Regions from separate parts of the Homo sapiens genome. Here regions 1, 2, 3, 4, 6 and 7 are each linked to region 5. Evidence: promoter capture Hi-C in 16 types of primary human blood cells and fetal thymus (Javierre and others, 2016). All regions are on one chromosome and are shown on one strand. The core of a region is centred on a gene start or on the middle of the fragment in contact, and the rest is flanking DNA. Distances in the headings are between cores, read along the strand shown. Region 1 overlaps MMD (monocyte to macrophage differentiation associated). Region 2 has its middle 55 kb from the start of MMD. Region 3 overlaps HLF (HLF transcription factor, PAR bZIP family member). Region 4 has its middle 77 kb from the start of HLF. Region 5 holds the start of COX11 (cytochrome c oxidase copper chaperone COX11). Region 6 overlaps HLF (HLF transcription factor, PAR bZIP family member). Region 7 overlaps SMIM36 (small integral membrane protein 36).

Region 1 (3,565 bases), core at 164-2,663, 440 kb before region 5:
TTCCTTTAAAACTTTTTTTTTATTTTTAATTTTTGTGGATACACGGTAGGTATATATATTTATGGAATACATTTTTGTTTTTTTTGAGACAGACTATCACTCTGTTGCCCAGACTGTAGTGCAGTGGTGCGATCTCAGCTCACTGCCACCTCCGCCTCCTGGGTTCAAGTGATTCTTGTGCTTCAGCCATCCGAGTAGCTTGGACTACAGGCGTGCGCCACCACACCTGGCTAATTTTTGTATTTTTAGTAGAGACAGTGTTTCACTGTGTTGGCCAGGCTGGTCTCAAATTCCTGACCTCAAGTGATCCACCTGCCTCAGCCTCCCAAAGTGCTGTGATTATTGCTGTGAGCCACCATGCCCAGGCTTTATGGGGTATGTTTTTTCACTTACTCACACAAGTCTTTATTATTTGCTTTGGTCAATGTTACGTGTAGGGGGAGGAAAGTCTAATACTAGCGTTCCCTCAAATTATAGTTATACCTACTTGGACACTGAAAATAGATTCAAGATGATATTACAAATTTGTACTTTTAAATTACCTCAGTAAAGGGCAAATTCCATCTAATCCATTTTATGAATAGACCTCAGTGAACCAAACTCTTTGTACATATACCTCTGACTTTTCAGTTTTGGAAGGAGGAACTTGCTTAGAAATACAGGTGGCTATGCTTTTGTAGTAAATGTGCCATTTTTTGTTTTTGTTACTGTTTTTCCTAAGTTAGTTTCTGAATTTCCTTTATTACTATTTACTGTCCACACCAGGATATTTGAAGTAAAAACTGTAAATACCTTCTAAAAAGACACAAAGAATGTGATTTCAGCTCAGGGAGTGTTTACTGAACATCAGGACTTTGCCCTGCACTGATAGGAGCTGGGGCAGGTTGCGGGGAGGTGGTCTGCCCTCCAGGAACTTCATTTTTCTGTTAGAGGGGATCCAAAAGAAATGGAAAACATCAGAAAAAGACAGATTTTGTTTGTTTGCTTTAACCACTTCAGGCTTTCTAACTATCATGGGGCCCTGTCCCTATGTCTTATATATGCTGAGAGAATCTATTGTATGTGCAACCTAAAAAATAACAGAAAGCTTTTACTCGTGACTTCATAACATTAACAGCAACAAAAATCTGTGTAACCTTGGAAGAACAAGTGTAAAGGCCATGAGAACTAGAACAAGAATGGAAATTGCAACATAGTGGAGTGATAACCCGTACTTCCCATCTGAACACTTTCTGACAAATTTACTTTTTTTTCCCCCTCGCTAGGACAGTGGAGCATTGTTTTCACATGTGTGATAGAATGGTTATCTATTTCTTCATTGCTGCTTCTTATGCTCCATGGTAAGATACAGTCTTCCTATTTTCGAAGGTAGTGATTTTATGATTAGAATTCCTCACTCCTCCTTTCCTTTCTCCCTCTTGTCCCCACCCTCAGCCCTCATGTGTACACCACCTTCCCTCCTCCTGAACACATACATGCATGCATTTTTTTCCCCATTTGATGTACTTGGGTCAGATTGCATATTTGAAGGGGAGAATATTGCTGCTGTTTATAATATCTGGGTATTGGATTGTTCAAGAAGTGCTATGAACTTGTGTGCAGATAGCTTGCTCACTCTTGAAATCTGTAACCTTTGCTCTCCATATTGTTTCCCTATACCTCTGCTATTGTTCAGAACACTAGAAAATTGAATTATTCAAGTGGAAATGCTGTAAATATGTATGAGGAAAGCAAGCTTATTTATTTATTTATTTATTTATTTATTTATTTATTTATTTATTTATTTTGAGATGGAGTCTCACAATCTCGGCTCACTGCAACCTCTGCCTCCCGAGTTTAAGAGATTCTCCTGCCTCAGCCTCCTGAGTAACTGGGATTACAGGCACGTGCTACCATGCCTGGCTAATTTTTGTATTTTTAGTAGAGACGGGGTTTCACCATGTTGGCCAGGCTGGTCAGGAACTCCTGACCTCAAGTGATCTGCCCACCTTGATCTCCCAAAGTGCTGGGATTACAGGCGTGAGCCACCGTGCCCGGCCTATTTTTTTATTTTTTGAGACAGGGTCTCACTCTGTCTCCCAGGCTGGAATGCAGTGGCGTGATCTCAGCTCACTACAATCTCTGCCTCCTGGGTTCAAGTGATTCTCACACCTCATTCTCCCAAGTAGCTGGGACTACAGACATGTGCCACCACACCCAGCTAATTTTTGTATTTTTGGGGGGAGACGGGATTTCACTGTGTTGGCCATGCAGCTCACTGCAACCTCCACCTCTCAGATTCAAGTGATTCTCCCACCTCTTTCTCCCAAGTAGCTGGGACTACAGGCGTGTGCCACCACACCGAGCTAATTTTTGTATTTTTTGGTGGAGATAGGGTTTCACCATGTTGTCGATACCAGGTTGGTATCGAACTCCGACCCCAAGTGATCTGCCCGCCTCTGCCTCCCAAAGTGTTGGGATTACAGTCATGAGCCACCATGCTTGGCCATTTTTGTTTGTTTGTTTGTTTGTTTGTTTTGAGACAGAGTCTCACTATGTTGCCCAGGCTGGAGTACAGTGGCAGTGGCCCGTGGTCTCAGCTCATGCAACCTCCACCTCCCAGGTTCAAGCGATTCTCCTGCCTCAGCCTCTCGAGTAGCTGGGATTATAGGTGCCTGCCACCACATCTGGCTTCTTTGTTTGTTGGTTTTTTGAGACAGAGTCTCACTCTGTCACCAAGCCTGGGGTACAGAGGTGTGATCTCAGCTCACTGCAACCTCTGCCTCCCAGTTTCAAGTGATTCTCCTGTCTCAGCCTTTGAGTAGCTGGGGCTACAGGCATGTGCCACCATGCCTGGCTAGTTTTTCTATTTTTAGTAGAGACGAGGTTTCGCCATGTTACCCAGGCTGGTCTCAAACTCCTGACCTCAAGTGATCTGCCCACCTCAGCCTCCCAAAGTGCTGGGATTACAGGCGTGAGCCACCGCACCCAGCCTGTTTTTGAAACTTAAGCCATTTGTCTTCAATTCACCTCAAGTGCAGTAGCTACTATATAGCAAGTGTGTTTATCATTTCTTTTGCTGAGTAAGAGAACCATTTAAAATACCTAGTATCCTGTTCATTGCCTTTGATCTTTCTGCCTTTTTGGTGCTGATCAAATATAATCTTTTGTTGCTTTGAAACTCTTAATTAAAGAAACATTAGCTTTCTTCTACAAGACATAATCCAGTTTTAAAAACTCAGAAGCTTATATTTTGCAATCATCTATTGTAGTCATTAGAAACAGTATGCCTCTAGATTCTGACTAATGCAGCATCAATGATTCAAAAGAAACCTGATTATCTGAAGGAGTAAAAAGTAAGTGCTATCTTTGCCCAGCATCTGACTAAATTATAGGTCGGCTTCATGTTGGAAGAAGAACACTGAAAGGCTTTTATGAATGGACATTAAATGCCCAGAACAATGCTTATTTCAGTAGGAACCTACAGGGTGTTCCAAACAGGATTCCTTACTTAGTTATTTTAAATTCTTTAATTTAAAATAAGTAAATGAATAAAATTAATTTAAATGTGAGCTGAGGAGTTAAA
Region 2 (3,209 bases), core at 449-2,948, 400 kb before region 5:
TGAAAGTATAACATCTGAATTGAGGTGGGCTGTAAGTGAAGAAATATACCCCAGATTTCAAACATCTGGCATGAAATATTAATGATTTTTGTATTCGTTACAGGTTGAAATAATATTTTTGATACATTGGGTTCAATAATATACATTTTAATGTTAATTTGACATTTCTTTTTACTTTTTAAGTTTTCTAGTAGCCACATAATATTACATATTTGGTCCACATTATATTTCTATTAAATATTACATATGTGGTCCACATTATATTTCTCCCTTATTTGGGAGAACAGTGAAGGAGTTTATGTAGGACAGAGACATGATCCAATTTTCATTTCAGAGAGAACGTTCTGGTAGGAAAGAGGATAGATTGGTGCGATCTAAGGCTAGAGAAAGGAACGCTAGTTGGGAAATGATTGTAATAGTTTAGGCATAAGATAATGAGGGCCTGCCTTAAAACAGGAGCTTTAGGAATGGGATAATTAGAGAAAGATAAGGACAATTAGAGCATGCATCAGATTCCCTGGAGGGCTTAAGATGCAGATTCCCTGGCCTCACCCCCAGAGAGTCTGATTTAGGAGAAATCGGGTGGGGTCCTAAACATTTTCATTACTAACTAGTTTCCAGACACTGCCGCTGCTGGTGGTAGTTTGGATACCTCACCCTGAAAACCTTTCCTTATAATACTTGGTGACAAATCGGATATATCAAGAGAGGGAGAAGTCTATGAAGACTTCCAGGTTCCTGCTCTGACTATCTGAGTAGACAGGGACTAAAAAGAGGAGAAGCTTATTTGGGAAAGAGTAGGATAGGTTTAGTTTGGGATATATTGAGTTTGAGGTCCCTTTGGAACTCCTAGGAGGCGATCTCTCAAGAGTAATTGTATATCTATGGATCTGGAACTCAGGAAACAGATCACACTATAATTAAAGATTTGAAAGTCATCAGAATTTAGTTGGCCCTAAGCATGAGAGAGATTGCCCAGAGAATCAGTGCAGTATGAGAAGGAAACAAACCCCAGGACAGATTCCTGTAGTGAAGCTCTGTTTTGATCAAAATCATTAGTGTTCAAGAAAAAGAAGATAGGCATGAATTTCCACTTGTCGTTTTTACCCATCTGCCTCTTGTGTTTGATCACAGTGACCAAGGTTTAGGTAACAGTTTCATAGGGCTTCAAGATCCTTCAGAAGATTTGAATCAATGGTTAGCTGTTTCATCAATGATACAGAAGAAGTTCAACAAAGCCTTTATTTCTAAATTTGATTATGAATAAAATAGGCTTGACCAAATAGCAGAAACCCCAGAGCTTCAATTTCTTCATCTATAAAATTGGAACACTGATACCTTTCTCACAGACTTGCTGGAAAATGGTGATAATGTATGTGGAGCATGGTGCCTGATCTACCCAGAATAGCATCTCAATAAAGGTAATTATCATTATTGCTATGAGACCAGCTTCCAGGTGAGTCTACTTCCCTAATTAAACCTTATGGGATAGGGGCCAAAGAAAGACTCCATTCACATGAAATTCCACCCCATGCAAAAGAGTGATTTAAAGCACTGAAAATAGCAATAATAATTTCAGTACTATTGTAATAGTAATTTTATAATTCAGAGGGGGAGAAACCCAATTACTGAGGACAATGTGTATTGTCCATTGTTTCACTGTGTTTTTGTAGCAATGGAAGGAGAAGGAAAATAGCCTTCCTATATGCTAGACAGGCTGGATATATTATTTCATTAAATTTACAATATAATATCTTTAAAATAAGGTCACAGTGAATGGCTCCAAGTGTTTCCTGGGATGAGCTGGGTCTCTTTGATCTCAAGAAATGCCATTGCTAAAGCAGTCAAAAGCTGGGTCATTGCAAGTGGCTTGTTGTCATGTATTCAGAGCAGCAGATGGCCAGCCACAGTTCTGATTCAATTGATGAGCACAGCCAGACCTGGGTAGACAAGCACAATCTTTCTTTTGTTCATTTAAGCCATTTTCTCTCTCACCCTCTTCTGTTCTCATTTTCTTTGGGAGCCTCAGTACTTTCTTTGATTTGCCTGCTGTTTTTTCCCGAACAAAACCCTTCTCCACCTGAGACAGAAAGTCTTCCTCACATTACCTTTAATCTGAATATCACTTTCAGCATCTTAACCAGAGAGGCTTATCAAGTACAGCTGCTTTGATTTAGATGTGGTCTGGAAAGAAGAATAAATTGAATTTGTGGGACATGCCTGACATCTCTCCTAGTCCTCCTGTACTTTTCTTTCCAGAGAATTCACCCTTCCCCAGATCCTGGTGTGCTAATGAAATAGACATTTTGTTTGTTTGTTTCTGCGAGGCACAAAAGGAGGCCCAAATGTATTTATTAATGGTTTGTTTTCAAGGTGGGCTGAACAGAATCGAAGCCACAAATTCCACCAACGAGGGCCCAAGACGTATAAAAGAACAAAGGAAACCATTAAAAATGCCAAAAATAAAATCAGAGGCCCATGAGAGTCTCTGTAGCTATTTTATTAAGGAGTTGAAGGAGATTATTTTATATACATATAAATGTATCTCGTTAACAAATGTTATATTATTTACCAAATGACCAGGTATGCTGTGCTGTTTTTGAAAAAAGCTTATCTAACTAAGCCTGTTCCATACCTCCTTCCTAACCTCTACCACTCGGCCACGGAGAACCTACCAAGTGATCAGCAAACTCACCTTTATCTGTAAACACTTCTCTAAATATTACCTATACCTCCAGGCCTTAGTTGAAATCCAAGCTAATTGTGTGCCCTCTGTTATGGTCTGAATGTTTGTTTTCCCCCCGAATTCATATGTTGATATCCTAACCCCCAAGGAAAGATAGTTGTTTTTGTTTTTGCTTTTGTTCTTTTGAGATGTAGTCTCGCTCTATCACCCAGGCTGGAGTGCACTGATGCAGTCTTGCTCACTGCAACCTCCCCTTCCCAGGTTCAAGTGATTCTCCTGCCTCAGCCTCCCGAGTAGGTGGGAATACAGGTGCACACCACTGTGTCCAGCCAATTTTTGTATTTTTAGTAGAGACCAGGTTTCACCATATTGGCCAGGCTGGTCTCAAACTCCTGACTTCATGATCTACCCTCGTAGGCCTCCCAAAGTGTTGGGATTACAGGAGTGAGCCGCCACACCTGGCTGGAAAGATAGTATTAAGAGCTGGAGCCTTTGGAAGGTGATTAGATCATGAGAGCAGAGC
Region 3 (3,305 bases), core at 99-2,598, 340 kb before region 5:
AGGTAAATTTGAGGACAACTATCTTTAAAATATTGAATACACCCACAGTATGCTCTCCATTTTTATTTTTTGTGGGCTTTTTTAAAAACATGTATCAGTTTAGTTTTATAGTTTTCTTTATTTTAGCCTTTCACATTTCAGTTTATTCCTTAAATGTATTATAAGAGTTGTTACTAGGGTATATTACCCTATTATATTTCCTAAGCGGTTACTGCTGCTATATAGGAAGCTACTGGTTTTAAAAGTTACTGGTTTATATCCAGCCACTTTACTTTCTTATTAGTTCTAATAGTTCTAACAGTTCTAACATCTCTTAGTTTTTAGGTGAACAATCTCATCTTCTGCCTCTATAGACAGAGGTGGCATCCTTTCTATGTTTATAATTCCTACTTTCTTTTTAATAATTTTCAGTCTCACTGCATTAGCCGGTTTCTGCAAGACAATGAGAAGAAAGAGAGACTGAGACTAATGATCACTGCTTGTCCCAGACTTTAAAGGAATATGCTTTTAATTCTTCAGATCCTTCAATATAAAGGCTTGTTCTAGTATCTTAGTAGATACAACTTGACAAAGTAAGGCAGTTCCAATTCTTCCAACCTTGTTTTACTAATAATTTTTAAAACCAGAAATAATGTATTAAGTTCTCTTAAATGCCTTTTGATATTTATTTATTGAGATAATCATGCCATTTTTTCTCCTGTATTTGTTAAGTCTGAGCTTGGTATTTCCAAAGCTTTATTTAAAAGATCCATAGTGGACAAGATCAACCCCATCATGTAGCCTCTGCAGTTACTGGAACATTGTTTTTCGTTTTTTTTGTTTTTCTTTCTAAAAGCTTCTTGCTGAAAGTCACTTCCAGAAGAACCAAGGAGGGTTTCTGGAGGAAAGGGTGGAACAAAGGGCTTAAAGAAATCTGGAAAAAGAATAGAAGTTACCTTCAAACCCAAAGTTGGCCTCTACTTTTGTCACAGATTAGGCAAGGCTAAACCTCCAAATAGTATAACTGGAAACAGGATATTTCATATTCTTTCGTATTTTAGCAAGAATTTAGCAGCTTGTGTTCAATTAGCTCATTAGCAAGCAGCCATCAATGAAGGGGAACAGCAGCACTCTGTCTTTATCTCTTCTCTAGTCAGTGGTTTATGTTTTAAATTGATGTCTGCATCAAAGTCACAAATTATAGTGTTACTTATTATTTCATCCTAAAGGCTAATTGCAACACCTCCAATCTTTCTGATGTGCTCCTCATTCAGGCAGTTAATAAAGCAGGAGATTTGCAGCAGTAACGTCAAAACACAGTAGTCTAATGTTGATCACTGATGAGCATTAGCCAGCTGATAACATTATCCTCTATCAATTAAGGCTGAGGAAAGAGAAGACAATTTTTATTTTGGCCAAAGGGTTTCCTTTAGAGCTGATGAGTGAAACTCCTAGTGATTCAAAGTTTGGTGCCGAATCTTTCCCTCCTGCTCACCTCTGCCCTCCTCCTCATCACCAGTTTAGGGTCTGTTCACTTGTCATGACTTCCTGGATCCCACGTAGCCATAATCTGAAATAGTGCTTTTACCCTCTTGGCATCCCTCGATGATGATACCATCATCAGGGATTACAGCTGACTTTGCTACAAACCATGCCTGCCTCTGAAAATCCTTTTACATTCAGGGAGCCAATCAACTTAGGAGATGATAGCAACACTATAAGGTCAACGAAGAGTGCTCACGATATATACAAAGATTAAATTAAAACCTCACAAATACAGCCTAAGGATATGGGCTTTCGGGACTCAGGCCATATTAGCTGGTCTCCATTCCCGCAGCAGGAATCTGTTATTTGTCCAACAAGTCCTTTCTGCAAAAGCTTAACACTAACGTCCTGATGGCCAAAGGCTCATTCCTAACCCATTCATGTCCTATTCCATGGGACCTGCACTTCCAGGCAGAGCCTATTTCCCTACCTCTTGCATCTGGGCTGGTCTCTGACTTGCACTGGCCAACAGAATGTGGCAGAAATGATAGTGTTAGTTCTGAGGCTGGGCCTAAAGAGGCTTTGCATGTTTCTGCCCCTTTTCTGTAGCACTTCTGTCATTACCATAAACATGCCCAGTCTAGCCTGCTGGAAAATGAAAGAAGAGGCCAGCCTAGGTCAGCTTAAATCACCTGAACTCTAGATATGTGAGTCCGGCCAAGATCAGCAGAGCCACCTGAGCAACCCATAGCAATTACAGATGAGTGAACAATAAGCCTTTATTTGTGTACGGTGAGTTTCTGTGATTGTCTGGTAAACATTCTCATTGCAATGGAGACTGACCTATAAGCTGAGTTATTGCATAGGGGGAGAGTGTTTACACCCACAATAACATTATAGCAGGATTTAAATTTGTACAGGACAGTCGTTTTACGCTGTGAAGTGAGTCAGACCTGGGTCTGAATGCTGATTCTGTCACCTGTATGTTATAAACTTGGGCCTTTGTAAATAAATGACCCCCAAAAAATGCCCCTCTAAATCCTAATAAGGTCTGTATTGGGGAAAGGGACTATCGTTGACTTTTTCCCCCTTCTTTTCTTAACCTACCTGAGTTTCAATTCCCTTATGTGTAAAAGGAGATTACTATGCCTGATTCTATGTGAAAAATGAACTAGATAATACATACAAAGTGCTTAGCACAATCTGTAGTACCCGGAAAGTGTGCAATAAATGGTCTCTATATAAACACATATACAAAATACAGATAATAGTTCAGAGATACTTGAAAGTAAATCAAATAAACAGACTATTCCCCTTGTCTAAGCCAGCACTGTCTGTCCTCTGAACTACTGCAACTTTTAACCATTATCCCTTTTCTATCTCCCACGTCTCCACAGCGGTACACTGTGATAATTCTAAACATGCAGACCCGTGTGGGTCACATCTCCATATCAAACCCTCCCAAGGCTTCCCATTGCCACATATGATCAGATCCACGGCTCTACCTCACTCACACACTTGGCCACACTGGCCTTCCTTCTGCTCCTTGCGTCCCCTGAATGTGATCCCACCCAGGCCTTTGTATTTAGTTTCCTCTCTACCTAAAGCATTCTTCCTCTGCTCTCTGCCTACCTAGTCCTCCTACGTTATGTAGACATTAGCATAAATGCCAATTCCTCGAACCCTCTGACTTTCCTCTACCCCTGCTCAATACCCATCAAACAACTCTGTTTGATGTTTTTTTTTTTTTTTTACAATATTTATCTCCATCCCAAACGATCTTTTTTATTTGTTTGATATTGCTGATCTCTTCCCTCCACTCCCATGTAAGCCCCACAGAA
Region 4 (3,630 bases), core at 402-2,901, 370 kb before region 5:
TTTAGTAGAGACCAGTTTTGGCCTTGTTGGCCAGGCTGGTGTCAAACTCCTGGCCTCAAGTGATTCACCAGCCTTGGCCTCCCAAAATGCTGGGATTACAGGCGAGAGCCACTGCACTCAGCCTTATAATCTAATTTAGGATGATTCTTTGGTTCTGTACATTTAGGGATATCATACATCTAACTGTTGAGCAAGTTTTTGACTGCCAACTGTATGCTAGGTCCTTTGATGTGGCCCAAGGATGCAAAAGTAATGAAGACACCTTCCAAGGAAGCCACTCTCCCATGGAGGAGACAGATCCACAAAAACAAAACAAAAAAAGCCTTAAAATAAGATGTCCAAAATACAATGATGGAGAAACACAGGGCATTTGAGGAACAGAATACCTGGAAATGTTTGTAACTTCTCCTCCTCACATGAAAGTCACAAACTGCTGAAAAGAGAGGAGTTTTTAAGAGTTTCCTTGCAAGTTTAAAAAGTAGAGGGCGCTTTCCCTCTCAGTCAATCTGAAGGCCCAGGCTCCCACCGAACTCCTTTCTCCACGACCCTCCAGCCATGGCCTCTCTCCTTGTGCTGCTAGCAAGCTTGTTGAACTTAAGTGGGAATGGGCCTCTTCCTTTCTGGATATAACCCCGAGTATGTATTCCTCAGACCTCCTCCTTCTGGGATGAGAAGCCCCACACCTTCTATTAGCCCTGGAGTCCTACCAACATTCCTTTTCCTGCCCTTGTTGGGGGGACTCTCTTGGGCCCCTTTCGCATCCAGCACTCCTGGAGTGGACTCAGGAATGCTGATGAATGCATTATTATCACACAGGCATGCTATTCTTGCTTGAGTGTCAATTTGAGCAGTTTCCAGTGAACTTATGGCTCTGCAGAAAGCATTGTTAAATGGGAAATTTATTTAAAAAAAGAAAAGCAAGAATATTTATATGGCACATGGCAGGCCAGAGAGGCAGATGCTATAGAGGTCTGGGTTCTAGTCCTGGTTTCCTTACATGTGCCCTGGGTCCAAGCCTTTCCATGTGTTGCTACCCCGTAGTCCTGGCTACCATCACCTCTGCCTTCACTTAACTTCCATGTATACCTCATCATAATTTATTCTCCATATGGCAGCCAGAGGGATCTTTTTAAAATGTAAATCAGAGCATGCCACTCCCCTGCTAAAAATTTTCAAATAGTTTTGCTGCACTTAGGATGAAATCCAAACTCCTCGACTAATCCTGTAATACCTTCCATATTCCGACGTCTGCCTACCTCTCTAGCCCTATCCTGAACCCCTCTCCTCACTGTCTAAGCTCTCTGACCTTCTGTCTGTCCCTTCATCACAGGAATGTCATTTCTGCCTCAGGACTTTTGCATCTGCAGTTTTTGTTGACTGAACTATATTCCCCCAAGACCTAGGCATGGCTCCTTCCTCTTACAAGTCAGGGCTTAGTTTCAAAGATAACTGTTTTTTCTTCTTTTTAAAGAGGTCTTTTCTGATCATTTCATCTAGAGCTTCCCCACTTACTCCATCACAGCTTTTTTATTCTGCTTTCTTTTACTCTTTTCATGGTATTTATTTATTGTAATTTGAAATTATTTTGTTAGTTTGTTACATGCCTTCCCTGTTCCCCTCATCGACTGTCCCAATCACTAGAGCATCTAGAATAGGGTGTAAGCATAACAGATCATCAATAAGTTGTTGAATGATCAAGTGAGTAAGTATGCTAAAGGTCATTTAATATACCTGAGCCCCAAATTCTTTAGCAATAAAATGGGGAAGAAGGTCTGCTTAGCTACATATTGGATCTTTTTTTTTTGGAGACGGAGTCTCGCTCTGTCGCCTAGGCTGGAGTGCAGTGGTGCAATCTCGGCTCACTGCAAGCTCTGCCTCCCGGTTTCACGCCATTCTCCTGCCTCAGCCTCCCGAGTAGCTGGGACTACAGGCGCCCACCATCACGCCCAGCTAATTTTTTGTATTTTTAGTAGAGATGGGGTTTCACCATGTTAGCCAGGATGGTCTTGATCTCCTGACCTCGTGATCCACCCACCTCGGCCTCCCAAAATGCTGGGATTACAGGCGTGAGCCACCACGCCCGGCCTACATATTGGATCTTTAATCATTGTTAGAAAACTCTCTGTGGTAGATATTGGTGTTATAGCCGCAGAAGAAATGGAAAGCCAGATGGGCTAAATAATTGCCTAAAATCATAGTTGTGGCCTGAAAGTTTATCCTCATTAAGATGCCTATAAAGATTTGGGAGAGAGAAGCAGGGGAGAGAAATTTTCTATGTTCTTCCAAGTTTTAAATCTCCCCAAAAAGCCACTCATTGGAGAATGGAGTCATATACTATCTATCTAGTACTCCCGGCAGCAAGGTCTGTGGCTAGAACTCTATTCCCACACAGAATTCTTCTGCATCTGATTCATTCTGAGCACACCCACCACATTCAGTCATTCATTTGCTTGTATAGGTTGGTGCAAAAGTAATCGCGGTTTTTGCTATTACTTTCAAAGGCAAAAACCACAATTACTTTCGCACCAACCTAATACATCAATTCATTGCATACATGCTGTTAGCAGCCAGTCACTATTGTAGCTTCAGGGAGGAACCCCCTGATTCATAATAAGGGTATGTCCCTGGAATCCCCTAGAAAGGGATAGTCCCCAATGGGGTCTATTGGTCAAACTCGAATTCTTGAGGCTAATTAAGGTAAGGCATTTAAAAAGCTTGTTAGGCCAGGTGAGGTGGCTCACGCTTGTAATCTCAGCACTTTGGGAGGCCACGGTGGGCAGATTACTTGAGGCCAGGAGTTCGAGACCAGTCTGGCCGACATTGCAAAACCCTGTCTCTACTAAAAATACAAAAATTAGCCAGAGGAGGTGGCACAGGCTTGTAATCCCAGCTACTCAGGAGGCTGAGGCAGGAGAATTACCTGAACTCGGGAGGTGGGGCTTGCAGTGAGCTGAGATCGTGCCACTGCACTCCAGCCTGGGTGACAGAGCGAGACTCTGTCTCAAAAAAAAAAAAAAAAATGAACAAATAAATAAAATGCTTGTTACCCAGGGTTCTGGCATGGAGTAGGCACTCAGAGATGTTAGTGATAATGATGTTAGAACATGGACCTTTTTCCTCAGCCAGGCTGTCTAGAAGAGGAGAAAGATTTAAAATGCCCTTGGCAATTTTTCCCTCTCAGAGTCATCCTGTTAGAGAAATCCAGCTCACATGATTCCCATTGCCTTTTCCGAAATCCACAGCCTGTACAAGCAACTGAAAGTAATAAGCATAATTTAAATGCTGTGTCTTTCCTAATTAAAATCCATCCAGAAAGGGATGCCAGGGTTATTTTTGTCTATGTGGCAGAGGAAGTTTTATTATATAAACCCAGCCTTTTCAACAGTCCAAGAGGAGGTGTGTCCGTGTGTGCATGTGTGTGTCCCTGTGTGTGCACGCATGCACCCATATGCATGTAGCAAGAGTTTGGGGGTGCAACCAGGAATGCATAGTTGGCACTGAACAGGTTGAAGGGTCTGAATTTTCAAAGGAAGCTGTTGATGGAACCACTGGCAATTGCTTCCCAAGGCATCTTAGGCTGGTGAAGAACCCTGGAGTCTGCCTTGGCCCTCCTTGCTAGTTCTAAAGAAA
Region 5 (3,251 bases), core at 530-3,029:
AAGTTAATCAATTACTCACTCAAGGTGACCATCATCACTCATGTGGACTACTGCAATTGCTTCCTAATTGTTCTACTTCCATTCCTCCCCCTACCTTTAATCCATTCTCCACAAAGTAATCAATATCTTTTCAAAAATGTGAGTCAGATCACATCACTTGTATGTGTCAAACATTCCAATAGCTTCCTATTACTTTTAGAATAAAATCCAAACCCTTGGACATGGCTTAAAAGGCTGGTATTACCAGGCCTTTGTTACCTGTTCTGACCCCATTTCCTACCACTTTCCACTCTGCTATGTTGGGAACACAGTGGCCTTCTTTCTGTTCTTCAATCATTCTATCTCTTTCCTTCCCCTGGGCCTTTGCTTGGCCTGGAATTGTTATTGAGTAGGTAGCTCCTTATCATCGTTCAGATCTAAACTCAAATGTCACCTCTTCAAAACGTCCTTACTTTACTACCGCTTCTCATGACTGTCAATCATACTATGTTATTACATTGTCTTCACTGCACTGATTGTTATCTGAAATTCCCTTATTTCGGTAACTGTTACTTGATTATTTTCTGAGTCCCTCAGCAGAAAGGACACTCCATCACTGAAGTGATCTCCCGACTTGTTCTGTGCTATAGTGCCAGCAGGTCGATTGGTGTCAGGCCCACAGTTGAGAGGGCAATAAATAAATAAAATGTCGAATGACTAGTTAAAATTTCTCAGGCCTCCAAGTTCCTCATCCACATAGTGGGGATAATTATACCTGCTCTGGCCATTAGAAATGGCCACGTAGCAAGTAGAAATACAGCCTAACTTTTAACTACATTCTTACTATGCCTCAGTCATCATGAAAGACGTTATATGAATATTATTCATTTACTGTTCTGATTTCCATTTTACAAGTAAGGACACCAGGTCTTAGAGGACAAGTAACTGACCTAAGGGCACAGGGCCATGGTGAGGACCCGGGTAAAAATCCAGAACCCCCTAACCTCAGAACCTGAGCTCTTAACTGCTATTTTATAGTTTCTAGAAAGATGCTTCCTTCTAACACAGTAAAATCCGCTATGCTGTCTGCCCCCCTCGAGTTCGTCCTGTGGGACAACTGAAGAAAGCTATTACATCCTCCCACGGGGTTCGTTTCTTTCAGTCTCTCCTTAAATGGCCCTCCTATCCTGGTCACTCTCTCCAGAACAAACTTCAGCGTGACAGCCTCCCTCCTGCTCCAGCTGTGGTGCTTTCCACTGGGCAAGTTGTAAGGGGCATCAGAGCAGGGGAAGCCGACTGCCCACGGGCTGAGAAAATGCAGGTGTCGTGGGTGCCCATGAGGGCTGCGGTTAACACAGCAAGGCTTCCTGAGAGAGGTGATACTTGAACTAAGTCCAGGGCAGTGAGCACAGGAGCCAGCGGCCAAGGGACCCCAGGAGAAAAGACCGCGGGAGAGCGTCGCCGGGGCTGCCGGGTCGAGACAAAGGCTGGTGGAGTTTAAATAAAGATCACAGGCGCAACCCCAAGTGATGGCAAGCTTGCACGCGGACGGGCGAAACGCATTTTCCTAAATGTTAAGAGACGTTCTGGCGAGAAGCGAAGTGGGAGTAACAGTCACAAAGCAAAACGCAAACTTACCCGTAATCTGGCAACCCGGCCTCCGTAGCCCGACTGCAAGCGCTGCCACCTGAGGAGCCTGGTAGCCAAGGCAGCGGCAGGCTCAACCCAGATCTCGCGAGACGGAGCACGCCTCGCGAGATTTGACCTCTCGTCCCTGAGAGGCGGGTGGGTGTTAGTTCAGAGGGTTATGGGAGGGCTCTGGCGTCCTGGATGGAGGTGCGTTCCTTTCTGTGGCTGGCGCTGGATCCACCCTGGGTCTCCAACCAGGGCTGCAGAGAGGGTAGAGCCGTTTCTTAGGCCAGAGTGGAGTGGGACAGGAGGTGCCGAGAGAGGACTGAGGTGGCTTGGGACATGGAAGCGCTGCAGCCTTCGAGCCCGGCATCCAGCATTGCAGCCGCCGCGGCGGCCTAAGAGCTCGAACCCTTTCACACGCGCGCAGGAGGAGGAGCGGCGGCGGCAGAACAAGACGACCCTCACTTACGTGGCCGCTGTCGCCGTGGGCATGCTGGGGGCGTCCTACGCTGCCGTACCCCTTTATCGGCTCTATTGCCAGGTAGGGGCCGGCGCCGCCCGCAGGGTGGCGCAGACGCGAGAGGTGGGGGTGCAAGACAAATCCCGGGACAAGCCCTCGCTCTGCGGGTCGTAGGTGGAAGAGGTTTCCGATATTATCTACCTAAGAGGAGAGAGGTTCAAAACAGTCACTTAACACCCAAAGTCACCAAAGAAATTGGTGACAAAACTGCAAGTAGCATCCAGTTCTTAGTGATTGTGCTTATACCATGCTGCAGAGTGAAACCCCTGATCTATGAACTGCACCTCGCCAAAAAAAAAAAAAAAGGTCCGCAGCCTCTAACCGGGTATCTAGCAGTCTGCCTTACCCTCCTGCGCACACACGCTTTTAAAATGTATTATTCATACATTCACTCTGCAAACCACATGTGGTTTATGTGCCAAGGGTAACTCTGGAAATTGGACTACTCGTGTTTCTTGGGCTTAAACTGGGATTAGCAGTTCCTCCGTACAAAGAGGCATGAATTAGGCCTTTGAGGCTCTCTCGCCCCACCCCTGTTAATATATAACTGTAATGTACTTAACCTGGAAACTGTTAAGTACATTGCAACGGTTCTGGGAGTGTGGCGCCCAGGACCGGCAGCATCAGCATCACCCGGGAACCTGTTAAAAGTGCAAATTCTAGGGCCCGACTCCAGGACTGAGTCAGAAACACGGGGTGGGGGGGTGGGGCGGGGAGAAGAAGGGGAGTGGGACCAGCACTCTATATTTTAGTTAAGTCCTGTAGTTGATTTTGAGGGCAAGTTTTGAGAACCACAGGCAAAGACAAGTTTCACGTATTTTAGAGATTTCTCCTTTGTTCTTAGCTAATAATTTGCAGCTTTGGCTGGCCATTAGGATCACCTATGGAGCTTAACGTTAAATACACGTTCCAGGGATCCCCTACCCCAGAGATTCTGGTTAGGAAGTCTAGGGTAGGGACAGGAATTTCGGTTTAAAAATCATGCCACAAGTGATTCAGTAAGTGTTTAAGATAGTGGCTCCCAAAATTCATTGTACAGCAACATTGGGAATCACCTGGACAGCTTCTAAAAATCCACACACATTACCCATTTTATCACAAGGCCACAGTGGGAACCAGG
Region 6 (3,709 bases), core at 64-2,563, 320 kb before region 5:
AAGCCTTCTACTGAGAAGCAGCCCATTGAGTTGGGGCTCCATGAATGGGCTTTGGTGCCAGACTGTGGCTTCATGTTCCAGCCCTGCCACCTATTAATCGCCCCCAGCACCATTTTGCTCACTTTCTCTGGGCCTCAGTTTTCTCATCTGTAAAACGACAATAATAATAGTATACCTACCAAGTACTAACAGTCGTTCCCAGAGATTGAGTTTTAATGATATAACACATATAAACCTCAGTCCAGTGCCCAGACTATAAGAAGCACTAAAGAAGGGTTAGCTATTATGACAACATTCCTTTTCTACCCATCCGTTTGATAGGAGCTCTGTAGTCAGAGAAAACTTGGTGCTTAGCTGACTGCCCGGTTCTCAGGACTTCACCAGCCAGCAGATAAAGGGGGAAGCTCTGCCTTCTCTCCTCAGAGCACAGTGGCGATCGGCCGTTGCCCAGTCCAGCTGCCACATGTAATGGTCGTTCCACCGGCATCCCCTATAACTCCTCAGGCACATATAGCACCTCAAATCTTAATTAAAAAAATGTATATATTAATATAGTACATGGGATATTTTGATACATGCATATAATGTGTAATGATCAAATCAGAGTAACTGGGATCATTGATCATTTCTTTGTGAAGGGACCATTTCAAATCTTCTATGTATTCTGAAATATACAATAAATCCTTGTTAACTATAGTCACCCTACTGTAGCTATTGAACACTTGAACTTATTTCGTCTGTGTTTTTGTACCTCTTAACTAACCTCTCTAAATCCCACATCCCAGCCCCCGCTAACCTTCCCAGCCTCTGGTAACCATCATTCTACTGTCTACCTCCATGAGATCAACCTTTTTAGCTCCCAATTTGAATAAGAACATACAATATTTGTCTTCCTGTGAATGGCTTATTTCACTTAACATAAATGACCTCCAATTCCATCTATGTTGCTGCAAGTGATAGAATTTCATTCTTTTTTATGGTGGAATAGTATTCCATTGTGTATGTATGCCATATTTTCTTTGTCCATTCACCCACTGATGGACACTTAGGTTGATTCCATTCCTTGGCTACTGTGAATAGTGCTGCAATAAACATGGAATGCCGGTATCTCTTTGAAAGACTGATTTCTATTCCTTTGGATATAAAGGCATACCTCACAGATATTGCAGGACCGGTTCTAGACCACTGCAATAAAGCTAAGAATCCAATAAAGCAAGTCACATCATTTTTTTTTTGGTTTCCCAGTGCATATAAAATTTATGTTTATGCTATACTGTAATCTATTAAGTGTGTAATACCATTATGACTAAAAACAATGTACATGCCTTAAGAATACTATATTGCTAAACAATGGTAAAGATCACCTGAGCCTTTAGTGGGCCATTTTTACTTATGATGGGTCTTGCCTTAATGTTGGTGGCTACTAATCGATCAGGGTGGTGTTTGCTGAAGGTTGGGGTGGTTGTGGCAGTTTCTTAAAATAACACGACAATGAAGTTTGCTGCATCAATTGACTCTTCCTTTCAGGAAACATTTTTCTGTAGCACGCGGTGTTATTTGATAGCATTTTACTCACAGTAGAACCTCTTTCAAAATTGGAGTCGATCCTCTCAAACCCTGCCACTGCTATACCAACTAAGTTTATGTAATATTCTAAATCCTTTGCTGGCATTTCAACAATGTTCACAGCATCATCACTAGGAGTAGATTCCATCTCAGGAAAGCACTTCCTTTGTTCATCTGCAAGAAACAATTCCTCATCCATTCAAGTTTTATCATGAGATTGCAGCAATTCAGTCACATCTTCAAGTTCTACTTCTAATTCTAGATCTCTTGCTATTTCCGCCACATCTAAAGTTATTTCCTCCACTGAAACCTTGAAGTCCTCAAAGTCATCCACTATAAGGGTTGCAATCAACTCCTACTAACTTCAGTTTATGTTGGAGTTAATTAATGTCCCTTCCCATGAATCATGAATGTTTTTAACGGCTTCTAGAGTGGTGAATCCTTTCAGAAGGCTTTTGATTTACTTTGCCTAGATCTATCAAAGGAATCACTATCAATGGCAGCTATTGTCTTAAAAAGTAAATTTCTTAAGTAATGAGATTTGACAGTCAAAATTATTCCTTGATCCATAGGCTGAAGAATAAATGTGTTAGCAGGCATGAAAATAACATTAATCTTCTTGTACATCTCCATCAGAGTTTTTGGATAACAGGTACACTGCCAATAAGCAGTAATATTTTGAAAGGATTTTTTTTCCTGAGCAGTAGGTCTTAACAGTGGGCTCAAAATATTCAGCAAACCATGCTGTAAACAGATGTGCTGTTATCCAGGCTTTGCTGTTCCATTTACAGAGCACAGGAAGAGTAGATTTAGTATAATTCTCAAAGACCCTAGGATTTTTGGAACAGTGAATGAGCACTGGCTTCAACTTAAAGTCACCCACTACATTGCCCACTAACAAAAGTCAGCCTGTCCTTCGATGCCAGGCATGGATTTATCTCCAGCTATAACTTTTACATGGTGTCTTCTTCCAATATAAGGCTGTGTAGTCTATATTGAAACTCTGTTGTTTAGTATAGCCACCTTCATCAATGATCTTAGCTAGATCTTTTGGAAAATTTGCTGCAGTGTCTACATCATTTCTTGGTGCTTCACCTTGCACCTTTTTGTTATAGAGATGGCTTCTTTCCTTAAACCTCATGAACCAACCTCTGCTAGCTCAAACCTTTCTTCTGTAGCTTCCTTACCTCTCTCAGCCTTCACAGAATTGAAGAGAGTTAGGCCCTGGCTCTGGATTAGGCTTTGGCTTAAGGGAATGTTGTGGATGGTTTAATCTTCTATCCAGGACACTCAAACTTTCTTCATATCAGCAATACGGCTGTTTCACTTTCTAATCATTTGTGTGTTCACTGGAGTAGTGCTTTGAATTTCCTTCAAGAACTTTTCCTTTGCATTCACAATGCAGCTAACTGTTTGGCTCAAGAAGCCTAGCTTTTGGCCTGTCTTGGCTTTCGACCTACCTTCAAAATTAAGCTTACTCATTTCTAGCTTTTGACTTAAAGTGAGAGACCTGCGACTCTTCTGTTCACTTGAGTGCTTAGAGGCCATTATAGGGTTATTAATTGGCCTACTTTCAATATTGTTGTGTCTCAGGGAACAGGAATCCCAAGGAGAGGGAGAGAAATGGGAGAACGGCCAGTTGGTGAAGCAGTCAGAAGAACATACGTAACATTTATGAAGTTCACCATCTTATATGGGTGTGGCTCATGGTGCCCCCAAACAATAACAATAGTAACATCAAAGATCACTGATCATAGATCAACATAGCACATATAATAATAATGAAAAACTTGAAATATTGCTAGAACCACCACAATATGACAGAGACACCAAGTGAACACATACTGTTGGAAAAATAGTGCCAAAAGGCTTGTGCAATGCAGGGTTACCACAAACCTTCAATTTTTAATAAACACACTATCGGCAAAGTGTAATATGGTGAAGTCCGATAAAACGAAGTACAGCTGTACACCCAGCAGTGGCACTGCTGGGTCATATGGTAGATCTATTTCTAGTTTTCTGAGGAACCTCCACACTGTTTTCCATAGAGTACAGCACTTTAATTCTTGAGGCTGTACCAAGGCCTTCTGTTAATGTTGGTTGTGCTTATTTGTCTGGTTTTCATTTTCCAGCACTGAGGAAG
Region 7 (3,588 bases), core at 875-3,374, 480 kb before region 5:
AAGTCAAACATTTATAGGTCACTCTCAGGTCACCCAGAGACAGGATGTGAGCCAAGTGATGACAAAGCCCATTTTCTGGAACAGGATGGCCACTATGTGAGCAGAGCACGTGGAGGCAGCAGAGCTGGATCTTTCTGTGTGCTGTTCATGGCAAGCTCTTGATTTGTCCAGACTCACGGTCAAACTCCCCTTGAGAAGCTGAGAACTTGCTCCACTCTAAGTTACCTCCAGACAGAATTTGAAATCCATGGCCGAGGTCATAATCCCCCACCTCTCCAGCCCTATGAGTTTTCCTCCCCTATCACTATCACTACCCCAGCTCTGTTAGCAACTTCACTCTGCTGTTTATATACACGAAACTGTGTGTATACACACATACTGCTGCCTGGAGTCAACTGGATATTTTCAAATGAACTGGTGATTTAACTGGATTCAGCTGTTACCAGTTTCTACACCAAGAGTTCTCTAACTGTTCTGGGGAACATCTATATTCAGGAACATTTACACAAACTCCTGAACAATAGGATGTATGGCCAAATACACTTGGGCTTATTAAAACCATATGTGGGTCAAATATGCCAGGCTTATTAAAAGTGTTTCCTTTTTTTTTTTTTTTTTTTTTTGTAGAGATTGAGTCTTATGCTGTCACCCAGGCTGGAGTACAGTGGCCCAATCATAGCTTACTGCAGCCTCAAACTCCTGGGCTCAAGTGATCCTCCCTCCTCAGCCTCCCAAGTTGCTGAGGGCACCCACCACCTTGCCTGTCTAATTTTTAAAATCTTTTTATTTTTTGTGGCGACAAGGTCTCACTATGCTGCCCAGACTGGTCTCGAACTCCTGGCCTCAAGTGGTCCTCCTGCCTTGGCCTCCCAAAATGCTAGGATTACAGGCATCAGCCCCTGCATACAGTCTAAATTTAGTTTTCTTTAGAATTTTTCAGAGACTTTGATATGCATTGTTCAGGAGGAAAGAAAGAGTCTTAAATCTTTTGTGCAGGAAATATATAGTAAATTCCTTAGGTAGCCCAGTTTAGGAAAACTGGTAAATTCATTCATTCAACAGATATTTATTAAGTACCTACACTGTCAGGCACTGTGCCAGGTACAAAGAGGGTGTATCTTTCTCAAGAATTTTCATAGCATTTTTAATCTAGTGACAAGAGAAGACACTCAACAAATAAACAAGACTGTTTCAGCCTGTGATAAGAAACATATGGAGGAAACAGCCACTTCAAAGCCTCTGTGGGGAGCTATGTGAGCTGGAACTTGAAGATAAAACATAAGTCAGCCACAGGAAGAGCCATGGGGAAAGTATTCCAGGCAGACAAGAGCAAGTGCAAAGACACAAAGACAAGAAAGATCTTGGCCTGCTTCAAGGGCAACCCAAGGTCAGCCAGCTGGAGGTGCTGAAGGAGGGTGATGGATGGAGACACTGGTAGAAAATGAGGTTGGAGAAGGTGCGAGTATTGGATCATATAGGGTCCTGTTATGCCACCATCTGGAATTAGGGTCTTAGTCTATGGATGATAAGAAGCCATTAGGGGCTGGGCACAGTGGCTCACACCTGTAATCCCAGCACTTTGGGAGGCTGAGGAGAGCGGATTATGAGGTCAGGAGTTCGAGACCAGCCTGACCAACATGGTGAAACCCCATATCTACTAAAAATACAAAAATTAGCCAGGCGTGGTGGCGCATGCCTGTAATTCCAGCTACTCAAGAGGCTGAGGCAGGAGAATTGCTTGAACTCGGGAGGCGGAGGTTGCAGTGAGCCATGATCGTGCCACTGCACTTCAGCCTCGGTGACAGAGCGAGACTCCGTCTCAAAAAAAAAAGAAGCCACTATGGATCTTTAAGCAGAGAGTTGCTGGCAAAGGAGATGGAAAGAAGTGGGCAGATTAGAGATGTCTTCTTGGAGGTAAAGTTGGTGGACTCTCCAGTGTTACTGTGTAGACTCACGGGTGCCTAAACCTGTTGTCTACGCTCTGCCAGTATTGCCTTGTGCTTGTGAGCCTCTGTCTCCTAACTCAGCTGCAAGTTCCCTCTCTCTAGGCTGTAAGCAGAAAGCAAGGAGTACTATCTGGGTATTGCACCCGGGTTCCACGTCTGGGCTCACACTCAGCAACTGTGTAAATGTGGGCAAGTCGCTTCACTTCTCTGAGCCTCCACCATGTTCTCTGTGAAATGAAACCAAAGGAGACTAAGTGATCTACTTGCAACACTGTGAGATCCATGTTCTATGCTTCTGATGGCAGCAGAACTAGATAGAAAAGAATAAGGAATTTGCCCCACACCCCTTGAGAGAAAGCAACGAGGAAATGTAAAAGGTCAAAGATTAGATATGCTGTTAGTTTTCACTTGACTGCTGTAACAATTTAGCACACAATGAGTGTCTTAAAACAACAGAAATTTTTTTTCTTTCATATTCTAGAAGCCAGGAGTATGAAATCAAGGTGTCAGAGGGGCTGTACTCCCTCCGAAGGCTGCAGGAGAAAATCTATTGCTTGCCTCTTCTACCTTTTGGTGGTTCCAGGAGTTCCTTGGCTTGTGATCACATCACTGAAATCTTAACCTACCTGGTCATACTGCTGCCTCTTCTTCTCTCTCAAAACTTCTCCTGCCTCTCTTCATACTTGTGATTGCATTTAGGGTCCATCTGGGTACTCCAGGAAAAACTCCTACTGTCAAGATTTAACTTAATCATATCTTATGTCATATAAAGTCATGTTCAATATTTTACAACATAAAATAATAGTCACAGTTTCTGGAGATAAGGACATGGGCGTGTCTTTTGGGGGATCATCCTTCAATCCATTGCATCTATCTATCAGTGATCACCCCAACCCAAATAAACCCGCATAATATTTTCAGGTATCCATTTTTCCTTTTTCCAGGGTCCCTATTCCATGACTTTTGTTTCTTTCATTTCTCCTTCATAGTGCTCAATATTGGGCTTTGCACAGAGTAGACGGTTACTCAATGAGTGCTGCTCCCAAAAGAAACTTCCAGAAACCCTTTAGTAAGAGTATCCTGGGCCAGGCGCAGTGCCTCACTCCTGTAATCCCAGCATTTTGGGAGACCAAGGCGGGCAGGTCACTTGATGTCAGGAGTTCCAGGCCAGCCTAGCCAACATGGCGAAACCCCCTCTCTACTAAAGATACAAAAAAATGAGCTGGGCGTGGCAGCATGATTCTGTAGTCCCAGCTATTTGGGAGGCCGAAGCACGAGAATCACTTGAACTGGGGAGGTGGAGGTTGCAGTGAGCCTAGATTGCGCCACTGCACTCCAGCCTGGGCGTCAGAGCAAGACTCTGTCATAAAATAATAAAAATAATTTTAAAAAAGAGTATCCTATCCATTTCCCTTAAAACTCGAAGTTTGGAAAATCAGCTTTACACCAGTTGATCTGTAAGGCACAAAAGAACATACTTAGCTAGATGTAAAGTGATCAAGATTTTAGTCCCTACTCTAAACCAACTTGTTTATGACCCTGGATAGACAGGTCCCTCCAGCTGTCTAGACATTTGCTTTCTAAAGAGAGGGACTTACTACAGTTGGCTTCCCCAGAAGCCCTTATACCACTTACATTCCAC

Evidence for each region. Contacts are between HindIII fragments. The CHiCAGO score rates a contact against its expected background, and 5 or more counts as called.
Region 1: a fragment that was not itself captured here is called in contact with the fragment with the promoter of COX11 in region 5 in 10 of 17 cell types (total CD4 T cells, naive CD8 T cells, activated CD4 T cells and 7 more); the score reaches 10.5 in total CD4 T cells.
Region 2: a fragment that was not itself captured here is called in contact with the fragment with the promoter of COX11 in region 5 in 8 of 17 cell types (total CD8 T cells, fetal thymus, non-activated CD4 T cells and 5 more); the score reaches 9.1 in total CD8 T cells.
Region 3: a fragment that was not itself captured here is called in contact with the fragment with the promoter of COX11 in region 5 in 3 of 17 cell types (total CD4 T cells, activated CD4 T cells and total CD8 T cells); the score reaches 7.2 in total CD4 T cells.
Region 4: a fragment that was not itself captured here is called in contact with the fragment with the promoter of COX11 in region 5 in 4 of 17 cell types (activated CD4 T cells, fetal thymus, erythroblasts and 1 more); the score reaches 6.3 in activated CD4 T cells.
Region 6: a contact is called between a fragment that was not itself captured here and the fragment with the promoter of COX11 in region 5, in 9 of 17 cell types (total CD4 T cells, total B cells, naive CD4 T cells and 6 more). The highest score is 10.0, in total CD4 T cells.
Region 7: a fragment that was not itself captured here is called in contact with the fragment with the promoter of COX11 in region 5 in 1 of 17 cell types (activated CD4 T cells); the score reaches 6.9 in activated CD4 T cells.

What each region holds. Positions count from the first base shown.
Region 1 is chr17:55,405,521-55,409,085 of GRCh38, reverse strand. MMD (monocyte to macrophage differentiation associated) reads left to right here. Exons shown (of 7, transcript NM_012329.3): 4 at 1,266-1,340. Among named protein-coding and RNA genes, the nearest start is that of MMD, 15 kb to the left of the region's middle. The HindIII fragment of the contact is 648 bases long and covers 1,090-1,737 here.
Region 2 is chr17:55,365,084-55,368,292 of GRCh38, reverse strand. No RefSeq gene overlaps it. Among named protein-coding and RNA genes, the nearest start is that of MMD, 55 kb to the left of the region's middle. The HindIII fragment of the contact is 1,827 bases long and covers 785-2,611 here.
Region 3 is chr17:55,307,743-55,311,047 of GRCh38, reverse strand. All of the region lies in intron 2 of HLF (HLF transcription factor, PAR bZIP family member), which reads right to left. Among named protein-coding and RNA genes, the nearest start is that of HLF, 44 kb to the right of the region's middle. The HindIII fragment of the contact is 1,022 bases long and covers 838-1,859 here.
Region 4 is chr17:55,340,499-55,344,128 of GRCh38, reverse strand. No RefSeq gene overlaps it. Among named protein-coding and RNA genes, the nearest start is that of HLF, 77 kb to the right of the region's middle. RefSeq lists a silencer at 2,410-2,629. The HindIII fragment of the contact is 2,130 bases long and covers 587-2,716 here.
Region 5 is chr17:54,967,182-54,970,432 of GRCh38, reverse strand. It overlaps COX11 (cytochrome c oxidase copper chaperone COX11), which reads left to right and starts at 1,779. Exons shown (of 4, transcript NM_004375.5): 1 at 1,779-2,152. The coding sequence starts at 1,787. It overlaps STXBP4 (syntaxin binding protein 4), which reads right to left and starts at 1,668. Exons shown (of 18, transcript NM_178509.6): 1 at 1,618-1,668. RefSeq lists enhancers at 1,351-1,400, 1,481-1,580, 811-1,759, 1,761-1,840, 1,851-1,910 and 1 more. The HindIII fragment of the contact is 10,915 bases long and covers 1,519-3,251 here.
Region 6 is chr17:55,290,078-55,293,786 of GRCh38, reverse strand. All of the region lies in intron 2 of HLF (HLF transcription factor, PAR bZIP family member), which reads right to left. Among named protein-coding and RNA genes, the nearest start is that of HLF, 27 kb to the right of the region's middle. The HindIII fragment of the contact is 3,456 bases long and covers 1-3,041 here.
Region 7 is chr17:55,449,138-55,452,725 of GRCh38, reverse strand. SMIM36 (small integral membrane protein 36) reads left to right here. Exons shown (of 5, transcript NM_001395421.2): 5 at 2,428-2,870. Among named protein-coding and RNA genes, the nearest start is that of MMD, 29 kb to the right of the region's middle. The HindIII fragment of the contact is 7,338 bases long and covers 1-3,588 here.